Regions from separate parts of the Homo sapiens genome. Here all the other regions are linked to region 5. The links are contacts of gene promoters, found by promoter capture Hi-C in blood cells and fetal thymus (Javierre and others, 2016). All regions are on one chromosome and are shown on one strand. Each heading gives the region's core, a stretch centred on a gene start or on the middle of the fragment in contact. The rest is flanking DNA. Distances are from core to core; before and after follow the strand shown. Region 1 holds the start of MRPS18A (mitochondrial ribosomal protein S18A). Region 2 has its middle 22 kb from the start of VEGFA. Region 3 has its middle 27 kb from the start of MRPS18A. Region 4 overlaps RSPH9 (radial spoke head component 9). Region 5 holds the start of TMEM151B (transmembrane protein 151B).

Region 1 (6,039 bases), core at 1,726-4,225, 590 kb after region 5:
AGAAGGGGGTATCAATTCTATCCCAGGTCTGCCTGATATCCGATACTCCAGAGCCAGAGTTCCTAACCATTTCAGCCTCTCCCGTAGAGGTCTAGCCCCAGTCACAGAAGCTAAAAGTCCACAGCTCACGTGCAGTGAAGAGAAAGCTTTAAAGACATAGGTGGGGTGTTGCGTGCGATTTTCCTAAGGAAGCCTTCCAGGAAACGAATGCAACCTTGAAGACTTGTAGGCATTGGCAGACAGGAGCTAGAAGACCTCCCCTAGATCCTTAACACGAAATATAGGCTTGACGCAGAAGCCTCTCTTCGTATCCCAAAGCGGACAGGTGAGAGAAATGATGTGACAGGAGCAAGCGAACTACAACCCCGCCCCGCCGTTCCTGCCCCACCACTGCGGCGGCGGGCGCTACGTTCCGGAAGCGGAAATGGACGAGAGGTCAGGGTAGGTTTTTGAAGATGGCGGCCCTCAAGGCTCTGGTGTCCGGCTGTGGGCGGCTTCTCCGTGGGCTACTAGCGGGCCCGGCAGCGACCAGCTGGTCTCGGCTTCCAGCTCGCGGGTTCAGGGAAGGTGAGTCATGCGTCCCAGCAACCTCCTGAAATTAAGAAGAGCGGCAGAGACTGCTTCCGCCAGCCCCGGTGCGCTCCTTCCTACCTTTCCTTCGTCCGATTCTGAAACTTTGGAGGTACCGGCTCCCCAGGCGTGCTTAAAAGCCCCTTCCACACCCTGGTGCCTTATCTTGATCTCCTGCCCCTTGTGAGTATCTTCACAAGGCGGAGGAGGACGGAGAGAAAAGCCTGCTTACTTAGCAGGAGCAGACACTAAACCTGTCCTAGGGCTCAGAAAAGTTTTCGGAAAGGGTTTGCATGTTAATTCTTCCTTCCATGTTCTCCGAATCGCAGTCTCTTTTATTAAAGAGTCTCTGGATCACGAAGGAAGGCCATCTGGGTACCCTCCCAGAGCCTCCCTTTCCACTTTCCCTTCTCAAAATGCTGTGATCTGATGGCGGCGTTCTCTGCCCCGGGCCGCTAGTCTCCCTGTGAGGGGGAGGCCAAAGTGGAAAGGCCATTGAATAGCTGAGACATAGGCAAATGCAGGATGGTAGTTCAGCTTTTCATTAATCTTAATCTGGGAAAGCGGCCTGATTCGAGCATCAACTGAGAGTTTACTGAATGCCAAGTGCTATGCTTCAAGCTGTGAAGGAATTCTGGAGACAGAAAATACAGCCCTTTTTCTGAAAAGCTTAGGTTCTAATGAGATTATGTATATACACACTCCAATAAATGCAAGTTAGCCTTTTACGTGACGAAGTACAGGGAGACTCAGTTACTGGAAACGGCAAACCCAGTTGGAAGTTTTCATAAAGAGGATGTGTCTTGAGCAGGCTCACAAAAGGATGGAATCTGGCGGAGAGTGAAACGGTCTTTTAGGACATAGCCTTCCTTTGTGTACTCCTGGAAGCAGGAAAGGATGAGTGATGTGCAAAAGAAGAGATGTGGGGTTTTTTGAGGATCTGGCATAGTATTGGGCAGCATATCCTTTAACGAAAGCTGAGAAGTATCCAGTGGAAAAGAGTGATCATTGTTGTCAGAGGGAGCAGAAAAGTCTAAAAAGGGCCTAATGAAGGGGCCATTGGATTTGTCTCAGAAGAGGTCTCTTTGTAGCTTTCAAACAGCAATTTCAATAGAGTGGCAAACAAGGAATCCAGTTTGGAGAAATGAAAGAGATAGTTGATGAAGAGATGGAAATAGTAAGTATGTTTGAAGAATTTAGCCCGTAAGGGAAGTGGAGCATTTGCTAGAAAAAAAAGTCTGGATATTGCCTGATTAACTTATCCATTAGTAGACCCATTAATAAAGACACTAAAGAAATCATGCAGATGATAGAGAGGACTTGGATGTTTCATTTGTTCCCATGCTGCAAAATAGGCATATCTCCATACCATTTTGGGGAGTCTACCAAGTGTCAAACACTATTGGCTACAATTTGCATATTCTTATGAAATTCAAAGTTGAGGCAGATTTTGCTATGCTTCCAGAAAAAAAGGCAAGAGGAATCGTTTTGTTTTAACAACAAATATTTGAAGTTAGACTTAATTTTTTCCTTTGGAGAGTTTGTGAAATGATGGACTGTAAGCCAGGTACAGTGGTACATATCTTTAATCCCAGCACTTTGGAAGGCCAAGGTGGGAGGATCACTTGAGCCCAGAAATTGGAGTCTAACCTGGGCAACGTAGTGAGAACGCCCACCTCTTTAAAAAAAGTAAAAAAGGATGGACTGTAAATCAAATGGGTCTCTGAAGTCCTTCATCTAAATGTTAGGTTGAATTAATATGATTCTACATGAAGGCACTACCATATTCTATATTCTTAAGAATCACCTATCTTCAAAGCTTGTAAATGAAAACATTTTCTTTTGCTAGTCTATGCATTATGTGTAAGGCATAAAGTATTATACATATAGCTAATTTTGACTAGTCTCAGCTGGTATATGTGACACCCAAACAATATTGTACACATAGAATTTAAAGTTGTGGGAAAGAAGCTGGTTCTCTTGCTGAAAATATTCAGGCATCCTACTTTTCAAAGTATCAGATAATAATACATAATTTTAGTCAGCTCTTGAGGACTGAGCACCAATTTTCCTGTCTATGAAGACTTTCAGTCTAAAACAGTGATTTTCAACTGGGGGGCAATTTTGTCCCCCAGTAACAATTGGCCATGTCTGCAGACATTTTTGGTTGTCACAACTGGTACTACTGGCATCTGGGGGGTAGAGGCGAGGGACGCTGCTAAACATAATGCACAAGTCAGTTCCCCACAACAAAGAACCATCTGGCCCAAAATGGCAGTCCTGCTGCTGTTGAGAAAGCCTGGTTTAAAGTTTGACCAGAGAGATACACAAAGCCAAAAAAAGGTTATTATGGGAAAAGCAAGACTGAAGGAGGACGAAAATAGAAATTGTGACTTACTGTGCCTGCTTCAAATACTGTGCTAGGTTTTCCACATACATTTATTCAGTCTTCTCAAAAACACCTTAAAGGTAGATATTAACTGTCCTCATTTTTATAAATGAGGAAATGCCGTTCCAAGGGGTTTAATAGCTTGCCCAGCATCACCTGTCTAATAAGTGATGGAGTTGGAAGTAGAGCCAGCCCTCTTCCCTCTCCACCAGTAACATCACCTTGGTATTCCATGGCAGGGCCTCCCTTATTGTTCCCTCCTTCCCTGAAAGCTCTTAGCAGTTAACTTGCCAAAGACCATTTAGTGCCATTATGGTTGGCACTGCCAGATTTAGCAAAGACTGTGTTGGATCTCATTCCTCCCTTATCCCTCTTAGAGCCCTTGTGAAGGAAATGTATTTAAAATAAAAAAACAAACATATTATTATATAAATTAAGACATGATTTGTCAGACACTTAGAGAAAGGTATATTGAAGTGAGTAAAGGCCAAAGGGAATTTGCTTCATCTCTTTCACAGTCAGTTAAGAAGGCCTTCTGGAAGACCTAACGTTTCAGACAAGGGTATGCCTGGCAGGTTGGGCAGTCCCATATAAAAGCTTTGAGAGAGGAGTGAGTTGGAGTCTTTAAAGAATTCAGGGGACATAGTCCAGAGTAACCTGCTAGTGGGAAGAAATTTTTGTGCAGCAGTAAGACGACTCATTCTGAAGCATAGGGCAGAGGGACATTCCCTCAGGGGTCCAAGGGAAAGAAAGGGGGAGGTGATGAGGGAACCAGAAACTTTAATGGTAGAGTTAAAGATGAACTGGAGGAAGCAGGGCTTGAGGCAGGAAGGTGTTTGCAAAAAGTTGTCAGTGGCCAGAAATGCAAGCACACATCCCAAACATGGCACACCTCTCCCTGACCCTACATAAGACTATTAGGGCCACTGCCCAGCCATCAGTTACTCCAGTCTTTCCTACTCTGCTTGGGCCCTGGTTTTTACAGATCCTCTCCAAGAGGGACCTTGGTCTCTGGGCACTTCAGCAGTGCCCTGCACTCCTCATCTTTTTTCACTTCCTCTTTTATTAAGCAGTTGAGTCTTTACATGGCTGCAGTTCACTGTGTCTGTTCATGTGGCCATCAAGGTTTTTTGCATTTTCTGTGTTTGTTGTTGTTGTTGTTGTTTAAGAGACAAGGTCTTGCTGTGTTGCCCAGGCTGGCCTCTAACTCCTTAGCTCAGGTGATCCTCCTGAGTAGCTGAGACTATAGGTGTCACCCCATCTCCTCCTTTTGCATTCACTGCAATCTCACCACAATGTCATTTGTTCCACACTGTTATAATTCAGTTATCTTGGACTCCATCCTGGGCAAGTATTTACTGAAGTACTCAAAGGACCTCTTTACGAGGCATGGACTTTATTATAGTCAAGTTCCCATGCAGAGTTTAGTTCTTTTCCTCCTCTAGGGCAAAGACTGTGGCTCCTATTCTACTGTAATTCACAGTAGGTAGAATGAAGCTGTATAGTCCATAAGTGCCCAGCAAATGTGTTGCCTCACTGGGGACAGATTATTTCATGTGTATGAGAAGTGCTTATCTGGAAAGATTTTGGCCCTTAGTTCCAGTTTAGAAAACTGCTTCATCTCTTCCCTTAGCTTACTTGATACTGCCATATCTCAGAACACAAGGGTGATTCCATCTTTTTCTAAACAAGTTTTCTGTTACTGCCTAAATCTCTCAGTCCAGCTTTTCTTAGCCACCCCCACTTCTCTTGAATAGGGAGGCAGCCAGGAACAAAATGGATCAGGTTTTGTTTGGTTTTGACACGTTTTTGTATGCACCCTGTAAATCAATACTATTTTGATTCCTATCTCCTCTTTCGAGGGGCTTAAAATCTACTAAGGGCCTCAAGGACCAGGTTCCAACAGGGCCTTCTCCCCCTGCACTAAGACACCACCCTGATCAGTGTCAGTTCAATGTGAGTTCTCAGGTCATTCCTTCTGGTTTGACAAATTGTCTCTGTTAGATAAGCATCTGCCTATTGTTTTACCCACTGGCTTCTAGTAAGATGATTCGCTGGCTCACAGTTGCTGCGTGGAGGGGGAGTTTGTGAACAGTGGAGCTTGCCATGGGCTTTGATCTGTTTTCCAGGGGCCAGTGGGATGACTTCAGGATTTGGTACTTTGCCGGGAGTGATGTGTGTTTTGTTAGACTTGTTTACCTCATGGTTAGGACCCAAGTGCCTCCACCAAGCAGGGAACCACATGTTTATCCACTTGTGTTTCAAGGCATTGTTCTTCTGCCGACTCCAGTGGTACCAGAACGTGTCTCTCCTTTGGTTCCTTTGGGGATTCTTAGAAACTTTCCCCACTACTTGTTGCTCAGATTAGGTTGTCTCTCAACTTGGTTTTTGCAAATTAGCAAAGTTGCAGGGTGCCTGGAACCCCTACTGGACTGGGGATGTGCCCTCCTCCTACCTCCCTTCATTTCTCCCCATCCTCCGTTTGTAGGTTGATTCTGCAGATTGACGTATTGCAGTGACCTTCCCTCTGCAGCTGTGCTGGCTTCCAGACTGAGGACCACATTGAGTCTCACCCAAATCCCATTCTTGGGTTGGTCTGTGTTCTGTACAAGTAGATCCGTGTGTGGGGTGACCCATTTTCTTTTACATGGAAAAACCTAGGTTGTCTTTGAATTGATTAGTAACTACAGTGTTCTCTGGAGAAAGCCTCAGGGCTTTTCTAGCCATTGTTATTCCTTTGTATGTCTGGAGTTGGACACTGAGAGGCTCTCAGGTTGGTTGTTTTGGAGCAGTGAGTCTTTATGAATGGGTTGCCCAGAAGACAAATGAGGGACAATTCCAAGCAGTCTGTGTCCAATTAGGTGTTGGTCACAGAGCTCAGTGATCACAGATGCTGCCATGGGCCTCTGGTTGGGTTACAATTGCCTTTTTAGTTAGATGGTCCCTTCTCTTTTTATTGGTGTTTGTTTGTTTATTTGAGATGGGGTCTCGCTCTGTCCCTCAGGCTGGAATGCAGTGGCATGATCATGGCTCGCTGCAGCCTCAACCTCCTGGGCTCAAGCAGTCCTCCCACATCACCT
Region 2 (5,276 bases), core at 2,554-5,053, 520 kb after region 5:
GTTTGAGACGGAGTCTCACTCTGTCACCCAGGCTGGAGTGCAGTGGCGTGATCTTGGCTTACTGTAACCTCTGCCTCCCGGGTTCAAGTGATTCTCCTGTCTCAGCCTCCAGAGGAGCTGGGACTACAGGCACACGCCACCACGCCTGGCTAATTTTTGTATTTTTAGTAGAGATGGTATTTCACCATGTTGGCCAGGCTGGTCTTGAACTCCTGACCTCAAGTGATCTGCCCTCCTGAGCCTCCCAAAGTGCTGGGATTACAGGCATGAGCCACCATGCCCGGCACTGACTATGTAATTTAATAAATAAATTTATTTTTTAAAAATAGTGTTGATAAATGCTATGCAGACAAATAAAGCAAGGTGAGGGGATAGAGACTGAGCAGGTTTTGGGGGAAGGGGCTGTTTCTATTTTAGATGAGGTCAACAAAGGGCTCATTCTGAGTAGAGATCTGAAGGAAATGAGGGGGAACGCCTGGAAATATCTAGGGAAAGGGCATTCCAGGCTGAGACAGAAGCAAGGGCAAATTCCCTGAAACCAGAACATGCTTGTCTTTTTGAGGAAAAGTAAGAATGTCTAAACGGCAAAGGAGAGAGGTAGCTAGGGGCCAAAACATGTAAAGCCTTATAGGCCACTGTAAAAACTTCATATTTAATTCTAAGTGTGGTAGGGAGAATTCTAAGATGACCCACCAAAATCCCCTGCTCCTTGGTTTGCCCCTATACATAATCCCAGGACTGTGAATATGATAGGTTTCACCCCCGCAGTTAGGTTGTTCCATGGCATAGGTGACTCTAAAAATGAGATTATCCATGGCCAGGCCTGGTGGCTCATGCCTGAATCACATGAGCTCAGGAGTTCAAGACCAGCCTGGGCAACATAGTGGGACCCCCTCTCTACAAAAATTTTGAAAATTAGCCAGGTGTGGTGGTGCACATCTGTGGTCCTAGCTGCTCAGGAGGATGAGGTAAGAGGATCACTTGAGCCCAGGAGTTCAAGGCTGCAGCAAGCCATGATCACACCACTGCACTCTATCCTGGGCAACAGAGTGAAACCTTGTCTCAACGACAACAAAAACAAAAAGAACTCAGTTCAGCTGACATTTTGATTTCAGCCTTGTGACACCCTGAGCGAGAAGCCCACTCACACTGTCCCTGACTTCTGACCTACAGAACTGTAGGCTAATCAATAGGTGTTATTTGGAGGTGCTAAGTTTGTGGTCATTTGTTGCACAGCAATAAAAAAGCTATTATGTTCTATATGATGGGAAGTCATAGATACACAGACCCTTTCTTATGAGTTTGACTTTAATATCACCCTAATTAGAGAGTAAGCTCCCTAAAGGCAGAAACCAACAGTCTACATGTCTCCTGCACTAGACTGCGCCAGGCACCTAGTGGACACACAAGAAATATCCCATAAATAAGTAAAAAATGTGTTGAACAAAGGCGAGCTCTTTGGAAAACTTGCCTGGCCTCTTGTACTGACCACTTTGAAGGACTGCTGATATTTGTAGAAGTTCTTTCAGAAAAATTGCATTCTGTGTATGCACAGCTTGCCTTCAGTCCTGCCTTGTTTGTGGTGGGGCATGGGGTAGGACGACCTCTCTTTAAATGCAGCATGTTGCACCAGAACTCACCTTCCATTCAAACATGGCTCCAACAGACTTCCCTTTCTGTTGCCACCATCTTTGGGGGACCCAAGTTCTGAACCTTGGGCTGATGCTCAATTCCTCCTTCTGTTACCCTCTCCATAGTCAGAGTCCTGGAGATTGATTTTCCAAAATGCCTTTCTATGAGTCCTAGCATCTGTGTTCCCACTGCCATCAGCCTATCTGAGGCCTCTCAGCTCTCACCTGCGTGATGGCAAAGGGCTCCCAGCAAGCTTCACCATCTCTTCTGCCCTGTGCTCAATCCACCTTGGTCACCACCACCTGGCTAATCTCCCTTAGATAACACTTGGTACATGTAAGCCCTTCCTCTAAAACTTTCATAGGCTCATCATTGCACACTCAAGTGAGCGGGGTGCCCCATAGTGAGCTGTGAGCATCTTGAGAGCAAGGGCCAGGTGTTTAATGTCTTTGAGGCATCATTGGTGTTCAACATCCATATGAGGCTGTTGATGGCAATGGTCATGACCATGAACATGAGAAGGATGTCTTTTCTTTTAGGTCAGAGAAGACAGCTGGTCTGTTAGTCTTCCAGGCTTTAAAGACTTAACCAGCAGTAGGGGAAAACTATGAAGTGTGTCCACTCTTCTCTTTAACCCTCTGCCCCCAACTCCTCCCCATCCCTGGGAATCTTGGCCAGCAAGCCTCCCACCCCTGTTACTCCATATCAATGTCAGCTGTCAGATCTTTTGTTCATGCCGAAGAGGTTTCCTTCCCAAGAGTGTTTGCAATTTCACAAGGAGATGACCGTAAAGGAGGCAAATATTAATGGTAGGGTTTCACGTATCAGCTGCTGGGTGGAGTGAGATGTTTGGACAGGGATATAAAGCTTTGCTCCTGCACCCAAAAACATGTCCCCGCCCATGCAGCAAGACTGATGTTAATAAAAGCATAGCATTGAACACATGTACCCTCCCCCGACAGGTGGGGACGGAACAAGTCCACGCGGTAGGCAGGATCTGGAGTAGGCTGCTGAAAAGCTCCAGCCAAATGATGAAGAAGAAATTCAAGAGAAGTTGAATGCCCTATAGATCTTAGAAAAAAAGAACAGTTTAGAAGCACAGGAAAAATTGCTATGCCTTTGGTCTTTTTTTTTTTTTTTTTTTTTTTTGAGACCGAGTCTCACCATGTTGCCCATGGTCTCAAACCATGGCCCATGGTTGCCCAGGCTGGTCTCAAACTCCTGGGCTCAAATGATTCTCCCACCTTGGCCTCTAAAAGTGCTGGGATTACAGACGTGAGCCACCACACCCAGCCAACCTTTGGTCATTTTTATGTCCCCATCCTCAATACCAACTCTGAAGAGAGTGGACCCCTTTCCACAGGACGGGCCCACCCCCAGGCGTGGACCATAGGGAGGAAGAAGCAGCTTCCAGACTCAGGAGCCCCTCCATCTTCCTTTTGTTCTGTTCTCCCTGCTAAAGTGTTGGAAGGGGAACTTTTGCACCCCTTTCCTCCCCTGAACAGTGGCTCACAGCTTCCTGGGCCCAGGGAGGGGAAGCCTGTGATGGGGGTGAGGGGGGACATGGAAAAGGAGGAAGGGAGGAAGCTGTGCACAGCTTGGCGGGGGGCTGGCCCTCTGGCATCCTGGGGGAGTCGTCCTCCTTAATTGCTTGAGTTCTACAGCTGTCATTGCTAACGAGAAATTAAAAAGCACCCTGACCCCTGCCCCAACTCCTGCCCTCATGGCTCACAAGTGCTCCCTCAGCACGTTGCTCTCAGAAGAGCACGGGCAGCGGAGCCGTGGAGACGTGGGGAAGCCTGGAGCTGACCGCTCCCAGCCCCCCAAGGGAGGGGGCAGGATGCCAAATTAGGGGAATGGGAGTCAGTCCCAGGCCAGCTTCTCCACTCCTCCTGCTACCGTCAAGCTCCACGTTCCTGGACGCCCCTGATTTTACACATCCTGCCTCATAATCCCCGCAGCTCTTCTGGGACTTGTCAGACCTCAGGCCCAGATTTTGGGGGTTGGGAAACAGGGTTCCTGGAACTGCAGATTGAAGATTTACACTGAGCTGCCCTGGGCCCAGCGAGCAGTGATGTAAAATGCAGAGAAATGAAGAGGGGATGGGGAAAAACACACAGCAAGAAGGATCTTCGTGTAGGGAGGAACTTCCCGGCTGTCTCACACCACATCCAGAGACGACATCTCCTCTCTAAGGATAAGGATTCTCTGCCTCACATGGTCCACCGGAACCTGTGTGGTCTGGCTCTTGCCTGCCTCTTCAGCCTCCTCTCCCCACCCCAGAACTCAAAGCCAGACACTAACTTTGCTCTCAGAAAGGACTTCTCAGCACCCACAGATTTCAGCCATCAGCACAGCTCCTTCCTGTCACTTACCTCCCCCTCCTCCCCCAGAGACCACTGAATTTTCACAAGCAAAACACTGTGTTCTAATACATTCCCTTCCCATTCTTCACATGTGCCCTCCTCCACACACACACACACGCACACACACATACACACACACATATACACACATATACACAGTTCCATACAGTACAGTGCTGCATTTACATGGTGGAGTCACGTACCCAAGTAGGGGACAATATCTCCCAACAGACCCTAGTTATTTGACTTTAAATTATAATGCTGTCATGAACATCTTTGCTCACATAGTCAAGTGAATAATATTCCTGAATGCATTTGCTATTTTTCTTTCAAACTTATGTAGATACTATGGAGATCAATAATATGTGATAATTTCAAATTATTTCTAACTTCACCACAGTTTGTTGTCTTCATGGATTTTTCTCAGATGATGAATATCTGTTATACAATCACTGTCTTTTGGAGTTCTCTGAAGGTTTTGTTTTTGTTTTTGTTTTTTAGTGTTAAAATAGGGTTTTCCAGCTCAAAATGTTTGGGAATCACTACCTGAAATCAACCAGCCATTGCCACACACACACAGTCCCCAAATCAAGCTAGTATTCTGTTCTGGTAAATCTTAAGTAAGTCCATTTTTGCATAAGTCAGAGTTGTTTCAAGTGAGAATATAAATGAAGCAGGTGCCCGCTTGGCAGCAATGTAAACAGAGGGAAGAGCATGGAGACTGGGTAGTGAGGGTGCCCCCAGCTCTCCTTGCCTGCAAACAAGGGTTACTTCAGAGCAAAGGAGCCCGATACACACACTTACACCCCGTCAACCAGTGCACCCGGCAAAGCTGGTGGAAAAGCCTGACTCAGGCCGCGTTTACCTAAGTCACCCTTACGTAAGCATGCCTATAAAGATTTTGGAAGGTACAAGGAGAAAAGTAAATAGCTGGGATTATGGGTATGAGTTTAATGTGGGGTTCCTGATATTGCAAGACTGCTTGAAAAATAATTTAAGTATACTCAAAATTAAACTTGGGCACAATGCTTATATGTGCCCAGCCCTGTGGAGGGGTTGTCAGATAATTAAGAGATGTTATGAGACGGCCTCTGCCTTAATGAAGCTTACGATCAAGTTGCAGAGAGGAGCTCTAGATTCGGCAAAAGCAGGCCTGCCGTCTACCTCCCCTTCGGCTGGGCCGGGCTGGGCGGCTGTTGGCTCACTCTTAACACCCTCTACTCCCTCACAGGTCCCATTGCCCCCTAGCCAAGCCCTCTCCTCATACTGTCCCCAGCT
Region 3 (5,513 bases), core at 885-3,384, 560 kb after region 5:
TGTGATTGTCATAGTGGGAATGAGGTGAGTAGGGATGCCTCCCTCTGTAGGGTACAGGACCATGAAGAAACCGTTGGCCATGTCACTGAGGCCTACAGGAACATCGTGGTGAGTCGAGATTTTCTAGGGCATCCAGCACAGCAGGCCCCCAGAGCAGTAATGGCCTCTTCCCCTGTTTCCCAGTAGAGCATCATTATGTTCCCCTCTCAGACTCCTGGAGACCCCTCCAACTTGAAAGCAAGTGTCATCTGCCCTGGAATCTACTGGGGCCACCCTTGAAAGAAGGTGGACAGAGGCCAGGCTTGGGAGACAGAGGATCCTGGGTTGGAATCCTAACTAAATGGAGTTCACTTGGGTCTGAACCTCACTGTAAAATGGAAACCATAATTCTCTGTGGCAGGGTCATTGTGAGGATAGAGATAAATATCTTTAAAAGTGCCTGGCACAGAATAGTGGCAAGATAAATGGTCAATATTTTGTATCCTGTTTTCCAAGGCTTTCTTATGAAGCCTCCACCTACCCACTCCCCCCACCCCAACCCTCCTCCATATGCCTCCCTGTCTTCATTTTCTAGAGCTGCCGAAACAAATGACCACAAACTTGGTGGCTTAGAACAACAGAAATTTATTTTCTCACAGTTCTGGAGGCCAGAAGTCTGAAATTGAGATGCCAGCAGGGCCAAGTTCCTGTCCAGCTTCTGGTGGCTCAAAGCATTCCTTGGCTGTGGGCTCCAGTCTCTGACACCACCTTCACATGCGTCTTCACACGGCTGTCCCCACCACGTCTCTCAGTGTTTTTACTTGTTTCTTAGGAGGACGCTTTCACTGGATTTGGGGCCCACACTAATCCAGCGTGATCGCATCTCAATCCTCACCTTCATTACCTCTGCAAAGATCCTATCTCCAAATAAGGTCCCATGCTCAGGTTCCAGGTGGGCATAAACTTTGGGGGTCTCTATTCAATCCACTACATTCCCCAACCTCAGAGTGAGCCAAGCTTAATTCCCCAGACTCCCTATTACCTGGCACAGCCATGGTCCCTGCCCAAGCCTGCTTCCAGACCCCCACCCCTCTGCCCCTGCATGTCCCAGGTCCCGTGGCCCTGCGCCTGGGCTCCCCAGTGCCATGCGTGCATGCCTATGTGCATGTGCACAGATTCCCCCTTCACTTGGCGGTGAGAAAGGGGGATTCTAGGCTTCAGCAGGAGCCTACAGGGGCCTCTCTGCTCGGAAATGCTTCTTCCTCTCCCCCTGGCAGCTGTTTGGCTTGGCGGGGGCCCATCTGGCAGGCTCAGCAGCCAAGGAGCCCTAGGGGGCAGTGGGAGGGAATGGTGAGGGGCAGGCAGCTCCGTAGTCCTCAGGCCCAGGCCCTGGGAGCTGGGCCAATGGCGGGCCTCCCTGCTGGCTGGCTCCAGCCCCTTCGCTCTTGGTTCTCCTCCTCCCTGGTCTCCCGTCCTCCCCATCCTGTAAAGGGGAATTCTGGAGACCCTCCACCACCCTGCACTAGCCAAGGAGAAGACGTGCAGAAGAGGAGCAGCAACTGGCAAAGCAAGAAACACACCCAGGGAAAGGGCAGTCAGTGGCTCCTGAGGATCCGCTCATGGGGGCTCTGGATACTCTTTGAGGGCACCCTAGGACAACCTGGACTTCTCCCAACCTCTGATATTCTGTCCTCTGCTCCTTCCATGTTCCTGAAATTTCCTGTCCCTGGTGTCCCCTCCAGGGCACTTGCCTTCTTCCAGGGCCCCTCTGAACCCCCAAGCTGTTGCCTACTTTTCTGGGTCAGGCCTCTCTTCAGTAAGCAGGACAGAAAATGATGCCCTCAGCCCCTAGCAGGTCCTACAACCTCTTTCTACTGATGGGAAAATGTAAAACACATGCGCACACACGCACACACACACACACACACACACAGGGAGGGGCACAGGATAATGAGCCTGGGCTTTAGGGTTCATTTGGCCTGGGTTCAAGTTGCAACCCTGCACTTGACACCTGTGTGATCCTGGACAGGTAACTTAGCCTCTCTGAGCCTTGATATAGCCTCATAAAAGTAAGACTACTCATAGCTAACTTCCAGGGTTGCAAGGATAAAATTGCATAGCCTCTGAAATAAGGTAGGTATTCTCTAAATGACAACAACTTCCTATGTGCCAGGCACTGCATTAAGCACTTTGCATAGATTATCTCATTTAATACTAATAATAACTTTATGAAATAGAAACTATTTCATGGCTAAGGAAGCTGAGCAGTTTGCTTTGGGTCCCAGAACTGGTTGAGAGATTGAGCTGAGATTTGATTCTAAGCGCTGTGAATCCAAACCCTGCACTCGAAACTACCATGCTCTGTTGCCTATGCTACTGGCAGTGTAGACATGGTAGATGGTGTTAGTATTAATACCACAGAGAGCAGCTGGGCTGCAGGGGTTTTCCCGGGGCCCCTGCAGGTGCAGCTTGGAGGTCAACCTTACCCTGCACACAGATTTGCATGCAGCTTGAAAGTCGGGATCTGCCTGGCTGCCTTAGTAATTCTGGAGTCCTGGACACGAGGGCCAACCCATCCCAGTCACAGGAGACCACTGAAACTGAAGCTCCCAAGGCTCTCGTGCCTTGGCACATCTGGAAGCTATTAGCCTCCTTTCTACCACCTACCCCCTCAACCCCGCCCCCCAGCCAGCTGTTCACAGTGGCTAATTCTGGGAAGTGCCCCTCAGCCAGTGGCTGCCTGCAGGGGAGCGGGGAGGGGGGTTCCTCACCAACACATCCATGGGGTGGAGGGGAGGTGGGCAGGCAGCAGAGGGTTAATCTGAGTAACTACAGCTGCTGGTCTCCTCCCCCAACCCACAGATAGATAGCCAGTGGGGTTACTCCTGGTTGAGTAATGAGGAGGGAAGAGAGCGGGAGGAGGCAGGGGTGAGTGTGGAGGGAGACCAAGGAGCAGAGACTGAGAAAATGTTTCTGCTGGCAAAGATCTTTAAAAGGTCATCTGATATTGTCCATCCCCCTGTTTCCTGGGGGTCACGGTGACCTCATGGTGTAGTGGAAAGAGGGCAGTCTTTGTAGTTGAGCAAAGCTGGGTCACAATCCTGACTCCGTCGCTGTCAGTCTGTACAACCTTGAGCAAGGTCCTTACCCTCTCCAGGCCTAAGCAGCCTCATTTGTGCAATGGGAGAACAGCACCCCTCTGGCAAGGCTGCCAAGAGAGTTCTGGGAGATACAGTCTGGTCCATGCCCAAAAACATTCGCTCCCTCATCTCTAAGAGCGGCAAGAAGCTTCGAGAGAGGTCTTCCCTTGGTTCCACTACCTGCCTCACTTTCTGGGATCTCACCGTCTAGATCCTGAATCCAGCACACCCATCTTACTGTGAGGCCTGCCGTCAAAGCCATGCCCTGCCTAGAGACTTGACTTGCCCTCCTCTCTGCCCAGCGCTGCCCTCCTCACTTTCTAAACTTGCTGAAGACCCCCACCGCCGGCACTGACAGCTCCCACTGGCTCCAATTGTCCCAAACCTCCCTCCACCCCGTAGTACCTGTGTCATTCAGGAGGTTATCTGACATCTCTGAACTCAGTTATCCTGGGGGTTAAATGTCGCTGCTGCAAAAATGCCTCCTTATATACTACTGCGCGTAATCTTCATAGCAATTCTTGAAAATAAGATCTAACCACAATTTTGTATATCGAGAGGGAAGAACAGATGCTAACTTTTTTTTTGTTTTTCAGATTTGAGACAGGATGTCACTCTGTCACCAAGGCTGGAGTGCAGTGGTGCAATCTGCTCACTGCATGCAAACTTCACCTCCTGGGCTCAAACAATCCTCCCATCTCAGCCTCCCAAGTAGCTGGGATTACAGGTGCATGCCACCACACCTGACTTTTTTTTTTTTTTTTTTTTGAGGTGAAGTTTCATTCTTGTTGCCTAGGCTGGAGTGCTGGGGTATAATCTTGGCTCACTGCAACCTCCGCCTCCCGGGTTCAAGTGATTCTCCTGCCTCAGCCTCCCGAATAGCTGGGATTGCAGGCACCCACCACCACATCCAGCTAATTTTTTTTTTTTTTTTTTTGAGACGGAGTCTCGCTCTGTCGCCCAGGCCAGACTGCGGACTGCAGTGGCGCAATCTCGGCTCACTGCAAGCTCCGCTTCCCAGGTTCACGCCATTCTCCTGCCTCAGCCTCCGAGTAGCTGGGACTACAGGCGCCCGCCACCGCGCCCAGCTAATTTTTTGTATTTTTAGTAGAGACGGGGTTTCACCTTGTTAGCCAGGATGGTCTCGATCTCCTGACCTCATGATCCACCCGCCTCGGCCTCCCAAAGTGCTGGGATTACAGGCGTGAGCCACCGCGCCCGGCCAATTTTTGTATTTTTAGTAGAGATGGGGTTCCACCACGTTGGCCAGGCTGGTCTTGAACTCCTGACCTCAGGTGATCCACCCACCCCAACCTCCCAAAGTGCTGGGATTATAGGCGTGAGCCATGGCACCTGGCCGATGCTAACATTTATTAAAGACTTGCTGCACACCAAGCCATGGACTGGGCCTGAGAGAAAAGCTGAGGAAATCCTGGATTTTCCCCTTAGAAGACTTTAATACTTGAAGAATTTTAATAAATGAAGAACTGGTTAGTATCTCCTACTGGTGCTACTGCGCAAAGGGCCTGTGTCCCCAGGCAACCAGACAGCCTCCCCCTCATTATCCTGGCTGGGACACAGAGAACAGCTGCTGAGCCCTAACCCAAGGGGCTGTTCCGTCACCTGCAATTGGGTGGCCCCTACACCCCCTTTCACAAGTCATTCCCCTTCCTGTTGCCCGACAAGCTCTAGTCCCTCTGGAGCAATGAAATCACATCCCACATGCTCCTAGCCTCCATTCTTAGCTTTTCCTCGAATCCACACCCGCTTAACCCATTTGATGACTGATCTGCAGGAGCCAATCCAGGTTAGTTCTTTGCCGTTATTTAACCACTGTTCACTGAGTGCTTCTTCCGTGCTAGGCACTGTCTACTATCTCTTTTGTTTGTTTGTTTGTTTTTGTTGTTGTTTTTTGTTTTTTTGAGACAGAGTCTTGCTCTGTCACCCAGGCTGGGGCGCAACGGTGCAATCTCAGCTCACTACAGCCTCCACCTCCCAGTTTCAAGTGATCCTCCTGCCTCAGCCCCCTGAGTAGCTGGGATTACAGGCGTGTGCCACAATGCCCAGCTAATTTTTGTATTTGTAGTAGAGATGGGATTTCGCCATGTTGGTCAGGCTGGTCTCAAACTTCTGACCTCAGGTGATCTGCCTGCCTCAGCCTCCCAAAGTGCTGGGACTACAGGCATGAGCCACCTGTCCAGCCTCTACTATCTCATTGAACACTATACACACACACAAACACACACACACACACACACACACACACACACACACAGAGTAACCCCAAAATGAGTATTATTATGTCAATCTTACAAATGAGGACACCAAGCCTCAGAAGCAGTCCCACCCCAAATCCTGCCCAGTCCTAGTCCATGGGAACAGCACCCACCTGCC
Region 4 (5,979 bases), core at 906-3,405, 610 kb after region 5:
TAATCCCAGCTACTCAGGAGGCTGAGGCAGGAGAATGGCGTGAACCCGGGAGGCGGAGCTTGCAGTGAGCCGAGATGACATCACTTGCACTCCAGCCTGGGCGATAGAGTGAGACTCCATTTCAAAAAATAATAATAATAATAAATAAAAATAAAAGTAAAAAGTAGAAATACAAAAATTAGCCGAACATGGGCCGGGCGGGGTGGCTCACGCCTGTAATCCCAGCACTTTGGGAGGCTGAGGCAGGCGGATCACGAGGTCAGGCGATTGAGACCACCCTGGCTAACACAGTGAAACCCCAACTCTATTAAAAATACAAAAAATTAGCCAGCCGTGGCGGCGGGCGCCTGTAGTCCCAGATACTCAGGAGGCTGAGGCAGGAGAATGGCGTGAACCCGGGAGGCGGAGCTTGCAGTGAGCCGAGATCGCACCACTGCACTCCAGCCTGGGCGACAGAGCGAGACTCCGTCTCAAAAAAAAAAAAAAGCCGGGCATGGTGGCCGGTGCTTGTAATCCCAGCTATTCAGTAAGCTGAGGCAGGATAATTGCTTGAACCCAGAAGGTGGAGGTTGCAGTGAGCCGAGATCACACCATTGCACTCCAGGCTGGGTTACAAGAGCGAGACTCCATCTCCAAAAAAAAAAAAAGACTTCAGTGGAGGAAGTAACTGCGGATGTGGTGGAAGAAGAAAAAGAACTAGAATTCAGAAGTGTAGCCTGAAGATGTGACTGAATTGCTGCAACCTCATGATAAAACTTGAATGGATGAGGGGTTGCTTCTTACAGATGAGCAAAGAAAGTGGTTTCTTAAGACGGAAGCCACTCCTAGTGAAGATGCTGTGAACATTGTTGAAATGAGAACAACAAAGGATTAAGAATATTACGTAAGCCAGGTTTGGTGGCTCAGACCTGTAATCCCAGCACTTTGGGAGGCTGAAGCGGGCAGATCACGAGGTCAAGAAATCGAGACCATCCTGGCCAATGTGGTGAAACCCCATCTCTACTAAAAATACAAAAATTAGCTGGGCATGTCTGGGCATGGTGGCTCACACCTGTAATCCCAGCACTTTGGAAGGTCGAGGTAGGCGGATCATAAGGTCAGGAGATTGAGACCATCCTGGCTAACAAGGTGAAACCCCGTCTACTAAAAATACAAAAACAAAGATTAGCCAGGCATGGTGGCGGGCGCCTGTAGTCCCAGCTACTTGGGAGGCTGAGGCAGGAAAAATGGCATGAATCCGGGAGGTGGAGCTTGCAGTGAGCCGAGATTGCGCCACTGCACTCCAGCCCAGGCGACAGAGCAAAGACCCTCCACCAGCAAAAAGATTATGATTCGCTGAAGGGTCAGGTGATCGTTAGTATTGTTACGAAATAAAGAATTTTTAATTTTTTTAACATTTTTAGACACAATGCTATTGCATACTTAACAAACTATAGTATAGTACAAACACAACTTTTCAAAAAATGTGTGACTCACTTTATTGCGATGTTCACTTTATTATGGTGGTCAGGAGCCAAATTTGCAATATCTCTGAGATATGTTCGTTTCTTTTTTTTTTTTTCTTTTTTTTTTTTTTTTTTTGAGACGGAGTTTTGCGCTGTTGCCCCAGGCTGGAGTGCAGTGGCGCAATCTCAGCTCACTGCAACCTCTGCCTCCCAGATTCAAGCAATTCTCCCTACCTCAGCCTCCTGAGTAGCTGGGTTTACAAGCGTGTGCTACCATACCCAGCTAATTTTTCTATTTTTAGTAGAGACGGGGTTTTGCCATGTTGGCCAGACTGGTCTCGAACTCCTGACCTCCAGTGATCTGCCCACCTTGGCCTCCCAAAGTGCTGGGATCACAGGCGTGAGCCACCGCACCCGGCTGGTGTGTTCATTTTCATTTGAGTCCTTACTATGTGTTAGGCACTGTTATAAGCATTTTGTGCATGAGTTAACTCATTTAATTCTTGCATCCAAATACTCACCAGGCCTGACCCTGCTTAGTTTCCAAGATCAGAAGAGACTAGGCACATTCAGGGTGGTATAGGAGTAGTCCATTTAATTCTCATAACTCGTTGAGGTAGAAAATATCAATTCTCCCCTTTTTAGAAATGAGGAAACTGAGGCACAGGGAAATGGAGGGATTTGCATGAAGTCACACAGCTAGTAAGTGGCCAATTCAGGATTCCAACCCAGCCTGTCTGATTCCACAGCCCTTGTCATCCCCATCCCCATCCTGAGATACCCCCCAGTTGGGTCGCTTGCTGCTCTTCAGAAGTGTTTCCCCCTAGAGGTGTGGGTGACTATTGTCCTGTGGTTCCTATTGTCATTTAAACTATTGTTTACTTAACAATCCAGTTCATGCCAGAACTGTGGAGTCTAACACTTTAACACTTACTGTGTCCTTGGGTTTAACTCTCTGAGCCCCTGTTTCTTCATCTGTAAAATGGGGATAAAAATAATAGGCTGGCTGTGAAGATTAAAATGAGATAAGGCATGGCAAGAGCTGAGTACGGTGCCTGACACATGATAAGCAGTGTCACATTTCATGAGTTAGTTGTTATTGTTGTCATTATCATTGCCATCATCATCATTAGATCCCTCTCATTCTCAGGAACACCCAACAAGGGAAGAGAAAGAAGTGGGGCGCTGAGTCTGTGCCTTGGGCCTGGCCCCCGATGGCCTAGAGCCTAGAACCTGAATTGGGTCATAGAATCCAAGGACATGCTCTTCTCTACCAGAGATGCTCAAGGGAAGGAAATGGGATCAGCACCACCAGCTATGGGCCAAGCATTATATCCAGTCCCTAAATACCAGAATCCCAAAAGTAACAGTTGAGATGTAAGTATGGCTAGTATTTTCAAGGATATTTGGGAGAAGATTCCCAACCTGCCCCCATTCAAGATTGCTACAAAAATCAAGAGACATTGAGATACCTCCTCTCTGTGAAAGCATATGGAAAACAATCCTACCTTTTGTAATTCAAGGACACTCATCAGTGTGTACTATAAGCTGGGCCCTGGGGAAGCTCCACCCTCAAAAACCCATGGTGAACCACCAATTCCCACTAGGCCCTTGGTTCCAGTCTCAGAGGAAAATGGCAGGTGGCATGGCCCACTGCTATGGCCTGAGGACAGATCCCATGGCCTCCAGGTAATGGACTATTACCTTTGGGAATGTCATGCTCCAAGGAGTCCATGAAATCCAGGGAGGGGTCCAGGTCAGCCTTCTCAAGCAAGGTCTTATTCTTTAGCTCAACAGGCTCCCTGAAATGGAAGTAGGAGCTGAGCTTCTTGGCCTCAGACAAGGACAGTCCTAGAAAGAGGTGGCAGGCAGGAAAATGATGGTTAGCCCAAAACCCCCCAGCCCCCTTTCTGTCTGCACTGGGACCACATGGTAGGGCTTACAAAAGACCCTGTCAACCACTGTCAGAGAGCTAAAGGAAGGAAAGGGATTAGCATTCCCTCAGTCCAAACTCGGACCAGATCCTGCCACAAAGAGAGTCCAGCCAGGCACGATGGTTCATGCCTGTAATCCCAGCACTTTGGGAAGCCGAGGCAGGCAGATCACCTGAGGTCGGGAGTTTGAGACAAGCCTGGCCAACATGGCAAAACCCCGTCTCTACTAAAAATACAAAAATTAGCCGAGCGTGGTAGAGGGTGTCTGTAATCCCAGCTACTCGGGAGGCTGAGGCAGGAGAATCGCTTGAACCCAGGAGGCAGGGGTTGCAGTGAGCCAAGATTGTGCCACTGCACTCCAGCCTGGATGACAAGAGCAAAACACCATCAAGAAAGAAACAAAGGGAGGGAGGGAGGGAGGGAAGGAGGGAAAGAAGGGAAAGAAGGGAAAGAAGGGGAAGGAAGGAAGGAAGGAAGGAAGGAAGGAAGGAAGGAAGGAAGGAAGTCCAAGGAGGAAGGAGATAGGAAAAGGCAGGTAGCCCAGACCCATGTAAAGCCCTGGGACCAAGGGACTATATGCTCTCCCACTCCTCAAACTGAAGAGAGTCAGGGGCCAGGAGATGGGGAGCCCATACCGACCACTGGTGCCAGGTCACTGGGCACACCCTCCCAGGTGATAAGGTCACAGCTACTCCTTCTCTGATAAAGTGTGTAAGCCCCCCTGCTGGACTCCCAGACATATGTTCTACTGTGCTTGGGAAAAGATACCCCCAGCCCTTGAGAGGGGCCCCAGAGAACTCACCTTCAAAGGTCCGATTGACATGGGTGGGTCCAAAAGGGGTCTTGAAGAGGGCGCCTCGGGGGATGATGGCCACAGCCTTGTCAATCTGGTCAATGACAGACACCAAGCGGGTCTCTTCCTTGATCTGGACCTGAGGAGACAGGAGAGGAGCCCCCCTGCCAGGGCACTGTGCCCAGGCACCCCGGCGCAAGGTCCCTCTGCACGGCCATCTCACCCGCACCACTGCAGTGTAGTGGACCCCAGAGCCACACAGATCACGCTGGGCAGGCCCTCGCCTTCCTTCCTATCAAGATTTTCTTCCTTTCTTTTTATTTGTTTTTTAATTCGTAATACATAAGGGTGGTATGATATTCAAAACTACAGGAAAAAATCAGTCTTTCTCTCACCCCAGTCCGAGACCCTAGTTGCCCTCACTGGGGGCAGCCACCATTGAAGGTTTCTCATGTACTCTTCCAGAGGCATACCATCCTATCAGCATATTTAACTGTTGCTTATTTTGCCTTTTTAAAATATAAAAGTAATCATGCTCACTGTAGAATATTTGGATAATATAGAAAGACATACCAAAGATAACTAAAACCACTCATAATCCTACCTCCTAAAGATAATCACTGATAACATATTGGTATACTTTCTTCATGTTTTGTTGTTATTGTTGCTGTCATTTTGTTTTTGTTTTGAGACAGGGTCTCACTCTATCATCCAGGCTGGAGGGCAGTGGCACAATCATGGCTCACTGCAGCCTCAACTTCCCAGGCTCAGATGATCCTCCCACCTCAGCCTCCTGAGTAGCTGGAAGTACAAGCACATGTCACCACATCTAGCTAATTTTTGTCTTTTTTTATTATTATTTTTATTTATTTATTTCTGAGACAGAGTCCTGCTCTGTCGCCCAGGCTGGAGTACAGTGCAGGGATCTCAGCTCACTGCAATCCCTACCTCCTAGGTTCAAGAGATTCTCCTGCCTCAGCCTCCTGAGTAGCTGGGACTACAGGCGTGCATCACTGCACCCAGCTAATTTTTGTATTTTTAGTAGAGACAGAGTTTCACCATGTTGGCCAGGCTGGTCTTGAACTCCTGACCTCAGGTGATCCACCCACCTTGGCCTCCCAGACTGCTGGGATTATAGGCGTGAGCCACTGCGCCCAGTCAATTTTTGTATTTTTGGTAGAGATGGGGTTTCTCCATGTTGCCCAGGCTGATCTCCAACTCCCGGGCTCAAGCAGTCTCCCTGCCTCAGCCTTCAAAGTGCTAGGATTACAGGGTGAGCCACAGCACCCAGCCCTCTATGCATATATTTAAAGCAAAATTAGAGTCACAGTTTATATTGTTTCATATCCTTCTCTTCAGTTTAACATTATTTTGCAAGCATTTCCCCATATCATACCCTTTTTACACAGATGAAATTTAGTTACAATTACTATCTAGGGCAACTCTGAACAAAAGGATTTCATAGAGATTTTGTGGAAGAGCTCGACAGAGAATGCGTGTCAACAGAGGCCCCTAGAGAGTCACGGAGCCACCTATTTGCCATGGGCAGCCTACCTGAATGGTTTACAAAAGAAAGGTAGAAACTAAGCTTTAATAAGTGCTGAGGCCAGTGTCTTTAAATATGTCACCTCATTTAATCCACACAAGCCTGCAAAGTAAATACAATTATCTCAATTTTACAGAAAAATAATAATAAAACTGAGGCTCACGGCTGGGCCCGGTGGCTCACGCCTGTAATCCTAGCACTTTGGGAGGCTGAGGTGGGCAGATCACCTGAGGTCGGGAGTTTGAGACCAACCTGACCAAC
Region 5 (5,922 bases), core at 2,051-4,550:
TTATGAGGGTTAAATAAATGATTTGATGTGTGTAAAATACTTAGAGCAGAGCCTGGCTCCTGGTCGGTTTTTGCTGTTATGATTATGGTTGTTGCTATTGCCCTGCTGTTGCAATGCTCATGGGAGCTCACTGCTGCCTTTTGCTCCTCCCACCTTCCCCCCAGGGAGGTGGGGAGGGAGTGAGGCAGCACGTAAGTGCCACCTCCCATGTTGAATGTCCTGCACTCCCCACCAGCTCCTCACCTGGGTGGTGGTATAGGCGTCTCCATTGCGGTATCTGGTGACCTGGCGGGTGCGGCGGACATAGTGGTAGCTGATGGCCTTCCACCAGATGCAGGGCGTGGCTTGCTGCATGCGGCCCACACGTTCCCGCACACTGCTCACATCAACACGGTGCTGCAGCTCATGGCGGGCTTGGCAGTGCCAACACTCCACCAGGTAGACGGCGTACAACATGAGCAGGAAGGCCAGGGGGATGTAGACATAGCCGTTGGAGCAGGGGCTGTCATGGTACATGAGGCTGTTGCCCTGGTAGGCGCTGCTGAAGGTGAGGCGCGTCACTGTGGTGACGTGGCACCAGGCCACTGCCCCCAGGCAGCCGTACATGAGCAGCGAGAGCAGGAGGCACTTCCAGTGGGACTCACGGCAGAGGGACTTGGTGAAAGAGGGCTGGATGGGACGCTGCTGCTCAGGTGGGCAGGGAGAGGGGCCAAGATGAGTGGGAAGTGAGAGCAGGCAGGACCCAGCACAGAGATGGATACGGGGATGGAGGGGCAGAGGCCAGCACCAGAGATAACAGGCAGAGAGAAACAGGGATATGGAGAGAAAAGGTGAGACCAAGATGGGAGCCAGGGGCCAGAGGTAGAAACAGAAGTGACACAGAGCAAGCCAGAGGACAGGAAAGGGGACCGGAATGCCAGTACAGGAGAGTGCAGAGAGAGACACCCCAAGAGGCAGAGAAGGATCAGAGCCAGAGATAGAGGCCCAGGCAGCAAACACAGATGGATAGGATGGTACCCAGAGAGCATCCGAAGACAAACACAAAAATGGCAATGAAACAGAAGATGTGGACAGGGAAGACAGGGGAGGACAGACAGACAGGCATCAGCGAAGGAAGGTCCCCAGCCCAGACCCCTTCCAGGTCCTCTAGAAAAGGGGGAGGGACCCACTGACATCACTTCCCCACTTAACAAGTGGGGCCCTCACTTCCAGATTTTTTTCAGTCCTAGGTTCTAGAGGAGCTACTCCCCTCTGACCCATCCACCTCCCTAACCCTCACAATTAGCCTAACACGTCCTTTGGATAAGGGCCTCCAGAGAACCCCAGGCCCAGTCTCATTCCCCATGTTCTGGACCCTGGTTCCCCTGTGAGTCTCCCTCCTGCACCCTGACATCCTTCCCTTTGTCCTAGGATGGGAGGGAGGGGGCTGGGGTCCCTGAGCGGCAGGCAGTCCAGGAGGAGGTATCCAGAAGGGCAGAGGCATGTGGCTGAGGAGAGGACAGGCATAGGGGATGTGGGACTGGGGTAGCGAGGACAACGTTTGAAGCCCAGCAATTTATCAAGAGAAAATTATTTTTGGTACTCTCCTGGAGCCTGTCTGTTAAAGCTCCTGGCACATTCTGTCCCAGGGTTGGCCCAGGAGTTGTTTACATGTCTGGCTCCCCACTACACTGGGTACTCCTGAGGGCCCATGCTTCATTCTCTTTGCATCCTAGGTGCCTACCATGGTGCTGGCCCCCAGCAGCCACATCCTAATTGAGTGTTGAGTTTAATTTCTTGTAGTGGCCTCTGTTTTCCCACCCCTCCTCTGTGCTGTCTAGCTTTAGGAACCCATCCCCCACCACACACACACACACACACACACACACAACCTCCTGCTGGGATCCTGACTTACCCCCTCAATTCCTCAGGCCTGACCTAGAGGCCAGCCAGGAAAGAGAGGAAAAGAGTGGAAAAGAAGGGTACAGTAATAGGCATCGGTCCCTGGATCTAGAAGTATGGATAGTTAGGCGAGCTAGGAAATAGCACACAGTACATGTGGACAAGGAGATTAGGGTACATGTGCCTTTCGGGGAGCCTTGTCCTTAGGAGGTATGAACATACGGGCCCCTTCGTGTGCCTACCTGGTTATGTGCTTGTCCCCATGTGGGTACCTCTGAAAGGGGCTTTACCTGCAGGCCCATCCCCGCTTGTGTGCCTCTGCCCTAGTACAGGGTGCATGCGTGTGCACAAGTGTGCATGGGAGGCTGGAGTGGGGGTGCTCCTGGTACTTTCCTCCGTCTCTTTGTCTTCAGGTTCAGAGGACTGAGTACTAGGGACCCCAACTAGGGATATGAGGAAGCAGCAGGAGCCTCGTGAGAGAGAGGTGCACACCCCCCCCCACACACACACACACACACTCCCAATGACCACAGGCGGGACCCCCCGTACACATCTGACCTCCTTAGGGTCCCAGATCAGGTACCACCACCACTTCCCCATGGTACCCTCCTCGTTCTGTAGCCCGTACAAGCCGCCCTTCCTGGCCTTCAAGGTAGCATCCTCCTCTGTGAGACAGGATCCCCGCCACCGTCCCCACCCCGGTAGAGCATAGCCCCCACTCTCATAAGCCCAGGATCCGCGAGGCTCCGCCCCTAGGCCCCTCCCCCTGCCCGGGACCCCTGAGCCCCGCCCCCGGCGCGGCCCCTTCCCCGGCACCGCGGACAGCTCCGGCCGCCGGGTGGGGGCGGCGGCGCGGACTGCGGCTGCAGCGGCCGGCTCGGGGTGCGGGGCGCCGGCCGCGCTGCGGCGGAACCAGCGGGGGACGCGTGCGATGGGGGATGGGGGGCCAGGCTGCGGCCGCGCCCGGGGAAGGGGCGCCCTAGACTCTCACCTCCTCTCGGGCGGGGCCCTCGTCCGCCGCCGCCGCTGCCGCCGCCGCCGTGAGCTCCTCCGAGACCCCGGGGCCGCCACCGCCGCCGCCGCCGCCGGCGGCGCTCTCTCCCGCGGCCGAGCCAGGGGGGGACATGGCGTAGAGGGGGCGCGTCGAGCTCAGGACCTCCCGGGGGGCTGCCAGGGGCCGGGGGCATCCTGCGCGGGCCCTGGGGAGAGGACGGGAGGGGGCGGGGCCCTCGCTGCTCCCCACCCCCCGCCGGGGGAGGGGGCCCGGAAAGGGCACCGGGAGTAAGGGGCTGGGGGCTGAGGGTGGGAGGCAGGCTGGGGGGCCGGGCCGGGGGGGGCCGGGGCCGGGGGCGGGTGTCACCTTGAGGCCCTCGCGGCGCCGCTCCGCCTCCCGCCCGCTCCCGCCGCCGCCTTTTGTCTGAGCCGAGCTGGAGCCAGCGCGCCCCCCCTTTCCTGCCAGCGCAGCCGAGCCCCGCCCCCAGCCCCCCAAACTCCGCCTTCCCAAGCCTACCTAATAACCACCCCCCGAAGGGGTAAAGCAACAGGGACTCCCCACACCTCTTCCCCGCTCCCAGCCCTGCTCACTGCACCTCCCTCCCGCGCTCCTATCCTGGGAGAATCTGTGCCGCAACCCCTCTCCATCTGTTCTCCGTGGACTCGGTGCCCGAGGTTCAACCAACAGCACCCCCCCACACACACACACATCTCTGGTTCCCCCAAGTTCCCAGGGCAGAGGAGTGGGGAGAGGAAATTGATTCTTGGAACCCTAGGGAAGATCCTTACTCCCAGTTTCGTGGTGAAGGGTTAAGGCAGAAGCTAGACTTCCAGAGGAATGGAATAGGGGGAAAGGGAAGAGATTGAAGCTAGATGTGGGAAAGGACTAACAGAGGGCAGAGGGGAGGGCATTGGAACCGGCCTTCACTGAACCATCTTTCTTCCCTAAAAGAACAGCTCCAGAGAAGCAGTGAAGTGTGTGCAATACCCTAGGCTGGAGGGCAGGAAACCTGAGTTCTAATTCTGAATTCTGTATCTGTCATTAAGGAGTTATGTGACCTTGGGCAAGTGCCTTCCTGTCTCTGAGCCTTAATTTCTTCATCTGTGCAGTGAGGAAGTTGACTGGACAATTTCTAAGGCTCTGACTTGTAGGTGTAGGAAGCAAGCCAGGCTGAGCCACTGCAGGCAGCCTATCCTTTCAGGCCATCCACCCCACACTGCTTTTCCCTGTATCCCCTGGCACAGCAGGAAGGACCCTGACATTTATTCATTCATTCATTTCTGGATGTCTCCATTCAGTAAACAGGTGTTGGGTACCTATTGTGTGCCCAGTACAGAAATGAAACACAGTTTCCTTCCTGCAAGGAGCACAAAGTCTAATGGGGAGAAAAGAACATGAAAAACAACCATTATGAAGAATATAATAAAAGCCATGCATGATCAATCTTGTGCATACACAGTCACTGTGGAATCCTACTATGTGTCATTAGAGTCTTTGACATACAGTAACTGTTCTCCCCAATTACTCACAGGGAACCAAGGCAGAGGGAGAGTGAATGGCTTACTCAAGGTCACCTGCTAGCACTCACAGAGCTAGTCCTAGAATTCAGATCTTTCCCACTCAAAATCTATGGGGAATATTTGTGGGTAGGAAGTTAGTTTGGGGCAAAGCCTCGATGTCTGATTTTGGGGGATAGGGTACAAACACACTGATCTGCCCAGGATGTTCCTTCCCCTTGTTGGGGACAGGAGAGCCACTGCTCCCACCCCTCTAGTCCCACTCCTGGCCCTGCCTTCATTTTACTACTCTTCCCTTTCCAGGTGAGGTGAAGGTGGCTCTCTGTCCACCTATTGCTTAGAGCTATCCAGCCTGCATGGTCCTCTCCAGGTTGATGGGTCCATTCTCCCTGCCCAGAGGAAGGCGGCTGTCCAGAAGAGGCGGGGGTCTGGTTCACTCCCTTGGCAGAGGCAGAATCTCACTTGGTGGTTCATTCCAGCATCTCCTGCCCATGCTTTTTGGGAAGCTGGCCTCACAGCTAACTCCAGCCCCTCTTGTTCCAGTTTCAACCCCTTCCCCCACAGAGAGCAGAGCCCCTAACCTTGGCCTTTCCAAACCCACAGAGGATCCTTTCGTGCTCCCCATTTAGGCACCATAATCTTCCTCTTGACACCCACCCCCACTGCCTTCCTGTCTCCACTTCAAAGGGCTTTGGAGGAGGGACAGTTTAGCTCTTTTTGGCCAATGCTAGAGCTCCCAAGAGACAAAAGGCTACCCCTGCCTTCTCCATTCACACACAGTACCCTTCCCTGGAAGCTACAAGAAAGGGGGGTGAAGGAGGGGGCGGTGGAAGGAGCCAGCTGACCGGCTGGTCACCATGGAAACCAGGCCTGTTTCCTGAAGATGAGCCTAGCTGGGGTGGGTGGAGGTGGGGAGTGGGGGCACAAAGGGAACCAGAAAACAACAGAGAGAAAGACGAGGGGCCCAGCCTCAGAGAAGACTGGAGCTGAGGAGGCGAGGTCAGGTCCCTAGCCATGCTGTGGCCTAAGTCAAAGTCCCCAGGTCACCCTTTCAGATAACACTGCAATGGTCCCCCTCCCCATTCCTGGAGTGTTGGAAAGGATTCCTGTCAAGAGTGCAAGCTCTGGTAGTGGGGCCAGTGGGTGACTCAATGCTGACCTCATGTGGCCATAAAAGGGACTGCCACACACCTGTTACGGCTCAGAGCCAAACACCTGGCTGGGTTAAGTGGGTTTTTCCTAAAATTCAGCCTCTGTATGAATAAAAAGGAGGTCCTTGCACACTCCTGAGTTCTTACATCCTTGCAGAGGGCTCAGACACTCCCACCCTATGTGGTTTACCTCTTGATAAAGAAAAGAAGGTTCCACTAAAAAATATGTAAAAGTTTTGGATTAGATGAGAAGCCATCTCTGCACTTTCTATTTTAACTTGAGCAAGTCAACTCACCTCTCTGGGCCTCAGTTTCCCAACATTAAAATGGGGATGATAGTGTCAGATTTCGTGTGGATTTTTTTGTTTTTGTTTTTGTT

The links. Contacts are between HindIII fragments. The CHiCAGO score rates a contact against its expected background, and 5 or more counts as called.
Region 1: a contact is called between a fragment that was not itself captured here and the fragment with the promoter of TMEM151B in region 5, in 1 of 17 cell types (naive CD4 T cells). The highest score is 5.2, in naive CD4 T cells.
Region 2: a fragment that was not itself captured here is called in contact with the fragment with the promoter of TMEM151B in region 5 in 1 of 17 cell types (neutrophils); the score reaches 5.1 in neutrophils.
Region 3: a contact is called between a fragment that was not itself captured here and the fragment with the promoter of TMEM151B in region 5, in 1 of 17 cell types (naive B cells). The highest score is 5.3, in naive B cells.
Region 4: a contact is called between a fragment that was not itself captured here and the fragment with the promoter of TMEM151B in region 5, in 2 of 17 cell types (erythroblasts and neutrophils). The highest score is 5.7, in erythroblasts.

What each region holds. Positions count from the first base shown.
Region 1 is chr6:43,682,196-43,688,234 of GRCh38, reverse strand. It overlaps MRPS18A (mitochondrial ribosomal protein S18A), which reads left to right and starts at 444. Exons shown (of 6, transcript NM_018135.4): 1 at 444-567. The coding sequence starts at 456. RefSeq lists enhancers at 74-685, 631-690, 4,078-4,127. The HindIII fragment of the contact is 1,167 bases long and covers 2,392-3,558 here.
Region 2 is chr6:43,745,074-43,750,349 of GRCh38, reverse strand. No RefSeq gene overlaps it. Among named protein-coding and RNA genes, the nearest start is that of VEGFA, 22 kb to the left of the region's middle. The HindIII fragment of the contact is 2,604 bases long and covers 2,502-5,105 here.
Region 3 is chr6:43,712,018-43,717,530 of GRCh38, reverse strand. No RefSeq gene overlaps it. Among named protein-coding and RNA genes, the nearest start is that of MRPS18A, 27 kb to the right of the region's middle. The HindIII fragment of the contact is 2,271 bases long and covers 999-3,269 here.
Region 4 is chr6:43,653,894-43,659,872 of GRCh38, reverse strand. It overlaps RSPH9 (radial spoke head component 9), which reads right to left. Exons shown (of 5, transcript NM_152732.5): 3 at 4,182-4,311; 4 at 3,150-3,296. Among named protein-coding and RNA genes, the nearest start is that of RSPH9, 12 kb to the right of the region's middle. The HindIII fragment of the contact is 7,215 bases long and covers 1-5,762 here.
Region 5 is chr6:44,267,828-44,273,749 of GRCh38, reverse strand. TMEM151B (transmembrane protein 151B) reads right to left here and starts at 3,300. Exons shown (of 3, transcript NM_001137560.2): 1 at 2,873-3,300; 2 at 244-684. The coding sequence starts at 3,007. The HindIII fragment of the contact is 13,529 bases long and covers 1-5,922 here.